2 separate regions of the Homo sapiens genome follow, and region 1 is linked to region 2. Evidence: promoter capture Hi-C in 16 types of primary human blood cells and fetal thymus (Javierre and others, 2016). All regions are on one chromosome and are shown on one strand. The core of a region is centred on a gene start or on the middle of the fragment in contact, and the rest is flanking DNA. Distances in the headings are between cores, read along the strand shown. Region 1 overlaps MROH1 (maestro heat like repeat family member 1). Region 2 holds the start of TONSL-AS1 (TONSL antisense RNA 1).

The links. Contacts are between HindIII fragments. The CHiCAGO score rates a contact against its expected background, and 5 or more counts as called.
Region 1: a fragment that was not itself captured here is called in contact with the fragment with the promoter of TONSL-AS1 in region 2 in 1 of 17 cell types (M1 macrophages); the score reaches 5.0 in M1 macrophages.

The regions. Positions count from the first base shown.
Region 1 is chr8:144,158,669-144,163,731 of GRCh38, reverse strand. It overlaps MROH1 (maestro heat like repeat family member 1), which reads right to left. Exons shown (of 44, transcript NM_032450.3): 2 at 2,643-2,762. Among named protein-coding and RNA genes, the nearest start is that of MROH1, 13 kb to the right of the region's middle. The HindIII fragment of the contact is 161 bases long and covers 2,412-2,572 here.
Region 2 is chr8:144,431,666-144,437,108 of GRCh38, reverse strand. TONSL-AS1 (TONSL antisense RNA 1) reads right to left here and starts at 1,941. Exons shown (of 6, transcript NR_109770.1): 1 at 1,669-1,941; 2 at 114-358. It overlaps TONSL (tonsoku like, DNA repair protein), which reads left to right. Exons shown (of 26, transcript NM_013432.5): 14 at 10-82; 15 at 189-352; 16 at 428-551; 17 at 691-1,451; 18 at 1,559-1,635; 19 at 1,939-2,092; 20 at 2,220-2,298; 21 at 2,830-3,131; 22 at 3,350-3,521; 23 at 4,649-4,824. It overlaps MIR6893 (microRNA 6893), which reads left to right and starts at 1,490; the gene lies at 1,490-1,558. The HindIII fragment of the contact is 6,013 bases long and covers 1-2,582 here.

The sequences.
Region 1 (5,063 bases), core at 1,243-3,742, 270 kb after region 2:
CTACGATATCTGAGTTCACAGGCAATTACCATTTCCATGTAAAATACACAATTTAAATGAATTTATTCTGGGGGAAATATCTCCGTCACATTTTCTTTGAGCCACTCAGGGAGGGCAAAAGGCATCATGATCCTCAACAGTTTCCAGCTCTCCTCCATCCCTGAGCACCCATCAGTCCCTACCAGCACCTCACTGGCCTGCACAGGCTTGTCCACAGCTGGCCCACAGTGTCACCTCGTCACCATCAGCCCCAGCAGGAGTGGATGCACCTCCACCTACAGCATCCTCCTCCACACTGTGAGGAACTGAGCACGGGCACCACAGCTTTCACACATCACATGCCATGCGCCACTGCATGCAACAATGGTCCCTAAGAATCGAGTCCAGGAAGCGTCCAAGTTCCCTCTGCCTCTTCACCACGGACACACATTCAAGTCTTGTGTCACGCTTTCTGAGGACCTACGTCATCAGAGGGGCTGCAGGCCCACCATAAGCATGGCAGCCAGCATCCTAACACTCACATTCTCTGTTCTCTGAGTCTCCCACCAGCCCCTTAATTCCCTTGATCACCTCCCATCCACCATTCCTTGCTAACATACTCCAGAGAAAAATGAAGGAGAGACACCATGACCCATCCCTGACCAGCCAGGACACCTCCCTGCGCTGTGCACACATGGGTTGGAGGCGAAGTAAGAAATCATAGAAATCTTGGCCAAGAGCGATGGCTCATGCCTGTAATCCAGCACTTTGGGAGGCCAAGGTGGGTGGATTGTTTGAGGTCAGGAGTTCGAGACCAGCCTGGCCAATATGATGAAACTCTGTCTCTACTAAAAACACAAAAATTAGCCGGTCGTGGTGGCAGGCACCTTTAGTCCTAGCTACTCAGGGAGCTGAGGCATGAGAATCACTTGAACCTGGGAAGCGGAGGTTGTAGTGAGCCAAGGACACACCACTGCACTGCAGCCTGAGCGACAGAGTGAGACTCTGTCTCAGAGAAAAAAAAAAACAAAAGAAAGAAAGAAAAAAGACATCATGGGCCGGGTGCAGTGGCTCATGCCTGTAATTCCAGCACTTTGGGAGGCTGAGGCAGGTGGACCACTTGAGGCCAGGAGTTTGAGACCAGCCTGGCCAACATGGTGACACACCATCTCTACTAAAAATACAAAAAAATTAGCCAGTCTGGTGGCTCATGCCTGTAATCCCAGCTACTCAGGAGGCTGAGGTGGGAGAATTGCTTGAACCTGGTAGGCGGAGGTTACAGTGAACCGAGATTGCACCACTGCACTACACTCCAGCCTGGGCAACAGAGCGAGCCCTGTCTCAAAAAAAAAGAAAAGAAAAACAGGGCCGGGCGCAGTGGCTCATATCTGTAATCCCAGCACTTTGGGATGCTGAGGCGGGCGGATCATCTGAGGTCAGGATTTCAAGACCAGCCTGGCTAACATGGTAAAATCCAGTCTGTACTAAAAAAATACAGAAATTAGCTGGGTGTGGTGGCGCGTGCCTGTAATCCCAGCTACTCAGGAGGCTGAGGCAGAAGAATCACTTGCACCCGGGAGGTGGAGGTCGCAGTGAGCTGAGATCGTGCCACTGCACTCCAGCCTGGGCGACAGAGTGAGACTCTGTCTTAAAAAAAAAAAAAAAAAAGAAAAGAAAAACAAAAAAACATATTCCATAAAGATCCCAAGCTGTGGAAGAGTTAAGAGCTGAAGAGGGCAGTGGCTCCCAGGCAGGGCAGAAAACCTGTGAAAGCGCCCACAGCACATACTTCCCAGAGACAAGGGCACGCCTGACGTGGAGCATCACAAGCCAGAGTTCCCAGGCCTGAGCTGAGCTGGGAGGCGGAGAAGCTGGGCTGAGTGGCCGGGCTCTGGGACCAGAGGCTGTGCCCTGCGGGTAGCCAGCACTGCCCAGCTCCGTCGTCCAGGAAGAAACGGGCGGAACCAACGCCAGTCCACGACCGTGCAGCACCCCTTCCAGTGCAGCAGCCACGCTCACCCAACTCAAACAGGAGCTAACAAAACAAATGGGCACATGGACTTGGACTTGCCTGCTCCCGGCCCAGGCGAGAATCACAGGACAACTAAAAAACTGGACGAGACACAAGAAACCACTGTTTCTCAGGACAATGGACATCAGAAAATGAAGGACTGTGCGGCCTGAGAGGTAGGAAATGAGGCGGAGCCCTAAGAGCCCAGCTCACTGCCTGGAGAGAGGACCCAGTCCTAGGGCCCAGCAAAACACCTAAGCTGATGAGACAGAACGGGGAGTGCCGGCCGATACCAAGGCGGCCGGAGTCTGCAGTCTCTCATACCAGAGAAAGCGCTGCCCAGAGAGAACTTTAGAGACCTGCAGCGGGTTCCCTGGGCACTCAGCAAGTTACTGGTCAGCAGAATAATAGCCCCAAAGCTTCCCACACCCTAATCCCCAGAACCTGTGTGTATGAACCCTTACACAGCAAAGGGGATTCAGTAGATGAGATTAAGGGTACAGGCCCTGAGACAGGGAGATTATCCTGGATTACCTGGGTGAGACCAAACTAATCACATGAGTCCTTAAAAGCACAGAAGCTTTCCCAGGTGCGTCAAAGAGAAGAGACAGAAGAGCGGGGAGGAGAAATTTGAAGCGTGAGAAGGACTCACCCCACAACTGCTGGCTTGGAGGATGCAGGAGGGAGGCTCTGAGACAAGGAATGCAGGTGGCCTGGAGAAGCTGCGAATGGCCCTCAGCTGGCGGCTGACAAGAAAACAGGAGCTTCCGTCCTACAGATGCAAAGAACCAAATTCTGCCAGGAACCTGAGACAGCAGAAGCAATCCTTCCCAGGGGCACCAGGAAGGGAAGCAGCCCCCGGCGCCTGGGTTCTGGCTGGTGAGACTTGGTAGACTTCTGACTCCAAAAACTTTATGGTAATAAATTTGTCTGGTGCCTGGGTTCTAGCCGGTGGGACCCTTGTAGACTTCTGACTCCAAGAACTTTATGGTAATAAATTTGTCTGGTGCCTGGGTTCTAGCCAGTGGGACCCTTGGTAGACTTCTGACTCCAAGAACTTTATGGTAATAAATTTGTCTGGTGCCTGGGTTCTAGCCGGTGGGACCCTTGGTAGACTTCTGACTCCAAGAACTTTATGGTAATAAATTTGTCTGGTGCCTGGGTTCTAGCCGGTGGGACCCTTGGTAGACTTCTGACTCCAAAAACTTTATGGTAATAAATTTGTGTTGCTTAAGGCACTAAGTTTGTGATAATGCATTGCATCAGCATTAGAAAACTAAGACAAATGCCTTGTAGGAGAACAAACTGTCCAAAGCTGCAGAAAGAGCCACACAAAGGGATTAGGAGAAGCAACATCCAGGGCTTCCACAGGTCCAGGAATGGGGCCTGCTCCCAGCAGCCGGAGTGGAAAGTGTGGAAAGCGTCATGACTCATGGGGCACCAGGCAGAGCTCAGGATTCCACCTCAGTAAACAACCAAATCAGTCCTAGACTAAATGTCATTCTGGTCTCACCTAACAAAGCTAAAAGAAAGGTCTGACAAGATCAAACTGTTCCCTAGTAACTTAGCCAGCTCCCAGCACAAAGCTCATGAATACTAACAGAAACACAAAAATATCCAGCAACACCAAGCAAAAGCAACGCCTGGCATCCAATCAAAAATTACCAGGCGTGGGCCGGGCGCGGTGGCTCACGCCTGTAATCCCAGCACTTTGGGAGGCCGAGGCGGGTGGATCATGAGCTCAGGAGATCAAGACCATCCTGGCTAACACGGTGAAACCCTGTCTCTACTAAAAAATACAATAAATTAGACGGGGTGTGGTGGCGGGCCCCTGTAGTCCCAGCTACTCAGGAGGCTGAGGCAGGAGAATGGCGTGAACCCGGGAGGCGGAGCTTGCAGTGAGCCAAGATCGCACCACTGCACTCCAGCCTGGGCGACAAAGCGAGACTCCGTCTCAAAAAAAAAAAAAAAAAAAATTACCAGGCGTACAAAGAAGCAAGAAAATCCAACCCATTGTGAGGATGAACCAACCAATACAAACTGACCCAGAAATAACACAAAGGAAAGAGTTCAGAGACACAGACATTAGTTATTAAAACTATTTCATATGTTTGAGAAACTACAGGAAAGATTAAATATGTTAACACTACGAGGTTAAAAGCAAAAGGATGGGCAAAGAAAAACATGGCTGGCATTAGTTACAAGAAAGCTGGAGTCACATTAGACAAACTAGATTTCAGAAATATTAAGTATCCTAAACATTTTTACCTGGTAACAGAGCTTCAAAATACACAAAGCCAAAACTAATAAAAATGCAAGGAACAATAGACCAATCTAAATTGCAGTATAGATTTCAACATTTCTCTCTCTCTCCTTTCTTTTTGACACGGAGTTTCGCTTTTGTCGCCCAGGCTGGAGTACAATGGCAGGATCTCGGCTCACTACAACCTCCGCCTTCCGGGTTTAAGTGATTCTCCTGCCTCAGCCTCCCCAGGAGCTGGGACTACAGAAACGGGCCACCATACCTGGCTAATTTTTGTATTTTTAGTAGAGATGGGGTTTCACCACATTGGCCAGGCTGGTCTCGAACTCCTGACCTCAGGTGATCCACCCACCTCAGCCTCCCAAAGTGCTGGGATTACAGGCGTGAGCCACTGTGCCCGGCCCTCTGTCTCTGTTAGAACAAGTGAACAGAAAATTCGGCCAGGCAGAGTGGCTCATACCTGTAATCTTGGCACTTTGGGAGGCTACGAGGCAGTTTGAATGCTTGAGCTCAGGAGTTCAAAACCAGCCTGGGTAACACAGCGAAGCCCTGTCTCTACAAAAAATACAAAAACTAGCTGGGCGTGGTGGCGTGCGCCTGTAGTCCCAGCTACTCGGGAGGCAGGAGGATCACTTGAGCCCAGGAGGTCAATGCTGCAGTGAGCAGAGATCACACCACTGTGCTCCAGCCTCAGCGACAGGAGTGAGACCCTGTCGCTAAAAATTAAAAAAAAAAAAGTGTAAAAGAAGTCAATGCATACAAAGTATGTTCTCTGACCACAGTGGAATTAAATATATCAATAAGAGAAAG
Region 2 (5,443 bases), core at 692-3,191:
TGGTCACAGGGCCACCCCCTTAACCCTCGGGACTACTGTGGCTGGACACCTCTGCACGAGGCCTGCAACTACGGGCATCTAGGTGAGCAAGGGACAGAAGGAGCCTGGCGCACCTTGGTGGACACGTGGGGCGAAGAGTCAGTCCTGGCGGGGCATCGGGAGCTGGGCTTACGTCTCCTGGTCTGCAGAAATTGTCCGCTTCCTGCTGGACCACGGGGCCGCAGTGGACGACCCAGGTGGCCAGGGCTGCGAAGGCATCACCCCCCTCCACGATGCCCTCAACTGTGGCCACTTCGAGGTGGCTGAGCTGCTGCTTGAACGGGGGGCGTCCGTCACCCTCCGCACTCGAAAGGTGAGCCTGGTGGGGCAGAGGGCAAGGGCGAGGTTATGGGGGCTGCTGTGCCCCTGCTCAACTGATGCCACACAGGGCCTCAGCCCGCTGGAGACGCTGCAGCAGTGGGTGAAGCTGTACCGCAGGGACCTGGACCTGGAGACGCGGCAGAAGGCCAGGGCCATGGAGATGCTGCTCCAGGCGGCTGCCTCGGGCCAAGGCAAGCAGGGCGTCCCTTGTCCCTGGGGTTGCTGTGCCTACGCTGAGAGTCCCCGGGCCCTGATTTCGGGAGATGCTCCATCACAGGTGGAGCGGGAGGTGCCGGGCCCCTGCCTCAACACGCATTCTCTCTCCCACAGATCCCCACAGCTCCCAGGCCTTCCACACCCCAAGCAGCCTTCTGTTTGACCCCGAGACCTCTCCTCCTTTGAGCCCCTGCCCAGAACCCCCCTCTAATAGCACTAGACTCCCAGAGGCCTCTCAGGCCCATGTCAGGGTCTCCCCAGGGCAGGCGGCACCAGCCATGGCCAGGCCTCGGAGGAGCAGGCATGGGCCAGCCAGCAGCAGCAGCAGCTCAGAAGGCGAGGACAGCGCAGGCCCCGCACGGCCGTCCCAGAAGAGGCCTCGGTGCTCGGCCACAGCACAACGGGTGGCAGCCTGGACGCCTGGCCCCGCCAGCAACAGGGAAGCAGCCACAGCCAGCACCAGCCGGGCAGCCTACCAGGCAGCCATCCGGGGTGTGGGCAGTGCTCAGAGCCGGCTGGGGCCTGGCCCACCGCGGGGCCACAGCAAAGCCCTTGCCCCCCAGGCAGCGCTCATCCCGGAGGAGGAGTGCCTGGCCGGGGACTGGCTGGAGCTGGACATGCCCCTGACCCGCAGCCGCCGGCCCCGCCCCCGGGGCACTGGAGACAACCGCAGGCCCAGTAGTACCTCTGGGTCGGACAGTGAGGAGAGCAGGCCCCGTGCCCGAGCCAAGCAGGTCCGCCTGACCTGCATGCAGAGTTGCAGTGCGCCAGTTAACGCAGGGCCCAGCAGCCTGGCTTCAGAACCTCCAGGGAGCCCCAGCACCCCCAGGGTCTCAGAGCCCAGTGGGGACAGCTCTGCGGCAGGCCAGCCCTTGGTGGGTATGCAGACCTGGAGCAGAGCCCTCTCCCCACTCCGGGCAGGCAGGTGTAGGGTGGAGCCCACTGTGGCTCCTGACTCAGCCCTGCTGCCTTCACCTGCCAGGGTCCGGCCCCGCCCCCTCCCATCCGGGTTCGAGTTCAAGTTCAGGATCATCTCTTCCTCATCCCTGTCCCACACAGGTGAGGCATCGCCTGCCCTACCCCGCAGCCCACCTGTGCAGCTCCATGCCAGGGTGCTCGTGTTTGCATGTCAGGGTGGGGCGTGTGACGAGGGCTCCCTGGTGTGTTCCAGGAGGATCCTGTGGCCCCCAGGAATAGCAGAGGGGCTGGTGGTGTGCTGGGCTGCAGGGAGAGGAGGGGCCGGCTACCTGGGAATGGGAGAAGCAGCTGAGGGGGCTTCTGGCCCTGGGCAGGGATGGCGGGTCCCTGGGGCATTACCCCGGCTGTGTGCAGGCAGCAGCAGCAGCGCCTCTGTCCCTGCAGCAGTGACACCCACTCTGTGGCCTGGCTGGCCGAGCAGGCGGCCCAGCGCTACTACCAGACCTGCGGGCTGCTGCCCAGGCTCACCCTACGGAAAGAGGGGGCCCTGCTGGCCCCACAGGACCTCATCCCTGATGTGCTGCAGAGCAATGACGAGGTGAGCCGCAGAGCGGAGGGGGAGCCAGGGCCTCAGGCACCGGGAGCCCCCGGGTGGCTCATGGCTGCAGAGCAATGATGAGGTGAGCCGGGGGAGCCCCCAGGTGGCTCATGACGGTGCCTTCCAGGTGTTGGCTGAGGTGACTTCGTGGGACCTGCCCCCGTTGACTGACCGCTACCGCAGGGCCTGCCAGAGCCTGGGGCAAGGTGAGGGCCAGGAGAGCTGCAGTTTCTGGGTGAGGTCGTACAAGGGGGTTGGGCACACAGGCTCCACCAGCCCGGTTCATTCCTGGGCCTCGGGTGTTTTGGGGTGCACCTCCCCCAGCCTGGTGGGTGCTGTGTCCTGCACTTGGATGTGTGGGTGGAAGGGAGAGGACAGCCCTCAGCCCCCATGATCTGCTGACAGGGAGATGGCAAAAAGCAGCCGAAAGCCTGGAAAGTCAAACCCAAGGAGGAGGGCCTGGCATGGGCTGGGAGCTGCTGGGGAAGCTTCCCAGAAAGCTTGTCCCGGGGGGTGTGGAATCTGGCAGTGACTGGTGGAGCTCAGGGTGCTGCAGACCCACCCCGGCCCCCAGGGCCTCACAGTGCTAGACCCACAGGCATGTGCGAGTGGGCTCTACAGCAAGTCTGGTGGGTGACCCCTGGGGCTGTTGAAAAGGGGCTGCCTGGTTTGCCCTCTGGGATTCAGAGGGCAGAAAGGGCCGGCCTTACCCTGGTGACATCACATCCCTCCCGCAGGGGAGCACCAACAGGTGCTGCAGGCCGTGGAGCTCCAGGGCTTGGGCCTCTCGTTCAGCGCCTGCTCCCTGGCCCTGGACCAGGCCCAGCTTACACCCCTGCTGCGGGCCCTCAAGCTGCACACAGCACTCCGGGAGCTGCGCCTGGCAGGGAACCGGCTGGGGGACAAGTGTGTGGCTGAGCTGGTGGCTGCCCTGGGCACCATGCCCAGCCTGGCCCTCCTTGACCTCTCCTCCAATCACCTGGGTCCCGAAGGCCTGCGCCAGCTTGCCATGGGGCTCCCAGGCCAAGCCACCTTGCAGGTATAGGCACAGAGAGCAGCAGGCCCTCAACAGCGGGGAGTTGGGGTTCCCATTCTGCAGGTCCCTGGGTGGTCTAGGGTAGTTGGGAGAGCCAGCCAGTGCCCGGCTGTAATAGGCTATGCCAGGCAAGGTGGGGAAGAGACTGCCAAGCCAAGCCCCAAGGGGGACCCTGTCCGTGGGACTGCTGGGGGCTCACTGCCAGCCTGTGTCTTCCACAGAGTTTGGAGGAGCTGGACTTAAGCATGAACCCCCTGGGGGACGGCTGTGGCCAGTCCCTGGCCTCCCTCCTGCACGCCTGCCCCTTACTCAGCACCCTGCGCCTGCAGGCGTGTGGCTTCGGCCCCAGCTTCTTTCTGAGCCACCAGACAGCACTGGGTAGTGCTTTCCAAGGTGAGCTGACCAGGCACTCCCTGTCCACTCCCTAGCCCTGGGGCATTGAGGGTTTCCAGGACTTTCAGAGGGGGCCCAGGCTGGGCACACAGGGGCAACACCTGTGGTCCCAGCTACTTGAGAGGCTGAGGCGGGAGTATCGCTTGAGCCAAGAGTTCCAGGAAAGCCTGGCCCACATAGTGAGACCCCATCCCTTAAGAAAAAAGCGTCTAGGCCGGGCGCAGTGGCTCACGCCTGTAATCCCAGCACTTTGGGAGGCCAAGGCGGGCAGATCACGAGGTCAGGATATCGAGACCATCCTGGCTAACACGGTGAAACGCCGTCTCTATTAAAAATACAATTAGCTGGGCGTGGTGGCCGGTGCCTGTAGTCCCAGCTACGCAGGAGGCTGAGGCAGGAGAATGGCATGAACCCGGGAAGCGGAGCTTGCAGTGAGCCGAGATCGCGCCGTTGCACTCCAGCCTGGGCGACAGAGCAAGACTCCGTGTCAAAAAAACGAAACAAACAACGTCTAGGGGCCTGGGATGCCAGACCTGGCTCTCCGGGAGGGCCTGGCACCTGGGAGCAATAGATGGATGTGTGGGTACAGGGTCTGCCTCCGAGGGGCGTCTGGTGCCCACCCAGCCAGGCTGACCCCCGCAGGACACACCGAGAGCAGAGTCCGGGCAGCTAGTGTCCTGTGGTCCCCATCCCGTGCTCGCCAGCTGAGTGCTGTTCGCCTGAGGCAGTTCCACTGTGAGCCCACTCAGGCTGCAGAGACTGGGGTCCCAGTGCCAAGAGGCTGGGAATTGGGTGTCATCCAGGGGGAGTGTAAGGGGGGCAGCAATGGTCAGTGCACTCCCCTGGCACCCCCACTGTGCAGAGGCATGTGGCCCAGGACCGTGTGGTTGTGGGGTGGGAGAGGGCAAGTTGTCCAGAACTGGGGGCAGCCGAGCTTGGAAGTCTGGCCCCGCCCTCCCAGCTGGGAGAATCTGGGCGAGAGCCTTTGCCTCTGCACTTGCCACCCCACCCTGCGAGCACTGCGGTAGTGGTTTCCCCAAAGGGGTCCTGAGGGTTCTGGGCCCAGAACTTGGGGTGGGTACAGGGCTGTGGCCACGTGGGGCTGACGGATTCTGGCCCCGGTGCAGATGCTGAGCACCTGAAGACCCTGTCCCTGTCCTACAACGCCCTGGGAGCCCCTGCCCTGGCCAGGACCCTGCAGAGCCTGCCCGCCGGCACCCTCCTGCACTTAGAGCTCAGCTCCGTGGCAGCCGGCAAGGGTGATTCGGACCTCATGGAGCCTGTATTCCGATACCTGGCCAAGGTACGAGGTGGGGAAGAACCCAGAAAATACTGAGCCTCAGAGGCCAAAGGTCCCAGGGTTGCTGGGAGGAGCTCGCCTCTCCCCAGATTCGGGCTGAACTCGCTGAGGGGCTCTACAGAGAGAGTTAGAGGTTTGGAGGTTTAGAAAAAACAGCTGGGGGGCCAGGCGCGGTGGCTCACGCCTGTAATCCCAGTACTTTGGGAGGCCGAAGGGGGTGGATCACAAGGTCAGGAGTTCAAAAGCAGCCTGGCCAACATGGTGAAACCTTGTCTCTAGTAAAAATACAAAAATTACCCAGGCGTGGTGGCGGGTACCTGTAATCCCAGCTACTCGGGATGCTGAGGCAGAGAATTGGTTGAACCCGGGAGGCAGAGGTTGCAGTGAGCCTAGATTGCACCATTGCACCCAGCCTGGGTGACAGAGCGAGATTCCGTCTCAAAAAAAAAAAAAAAGAAAGAAAAAGAAAAAAACAGGCTGGGCGTGGTAGCTTACGCCTGTAATCCCAGCACTTTGGGAGGCCGAGGCGGGCGGATCACGAGGTCAGGAGATCAAGACCATCCTGGCTAACATGGTGAAACACCATCTCTACTAAAAAATACAAAAAATTAGCCGGGCGTGG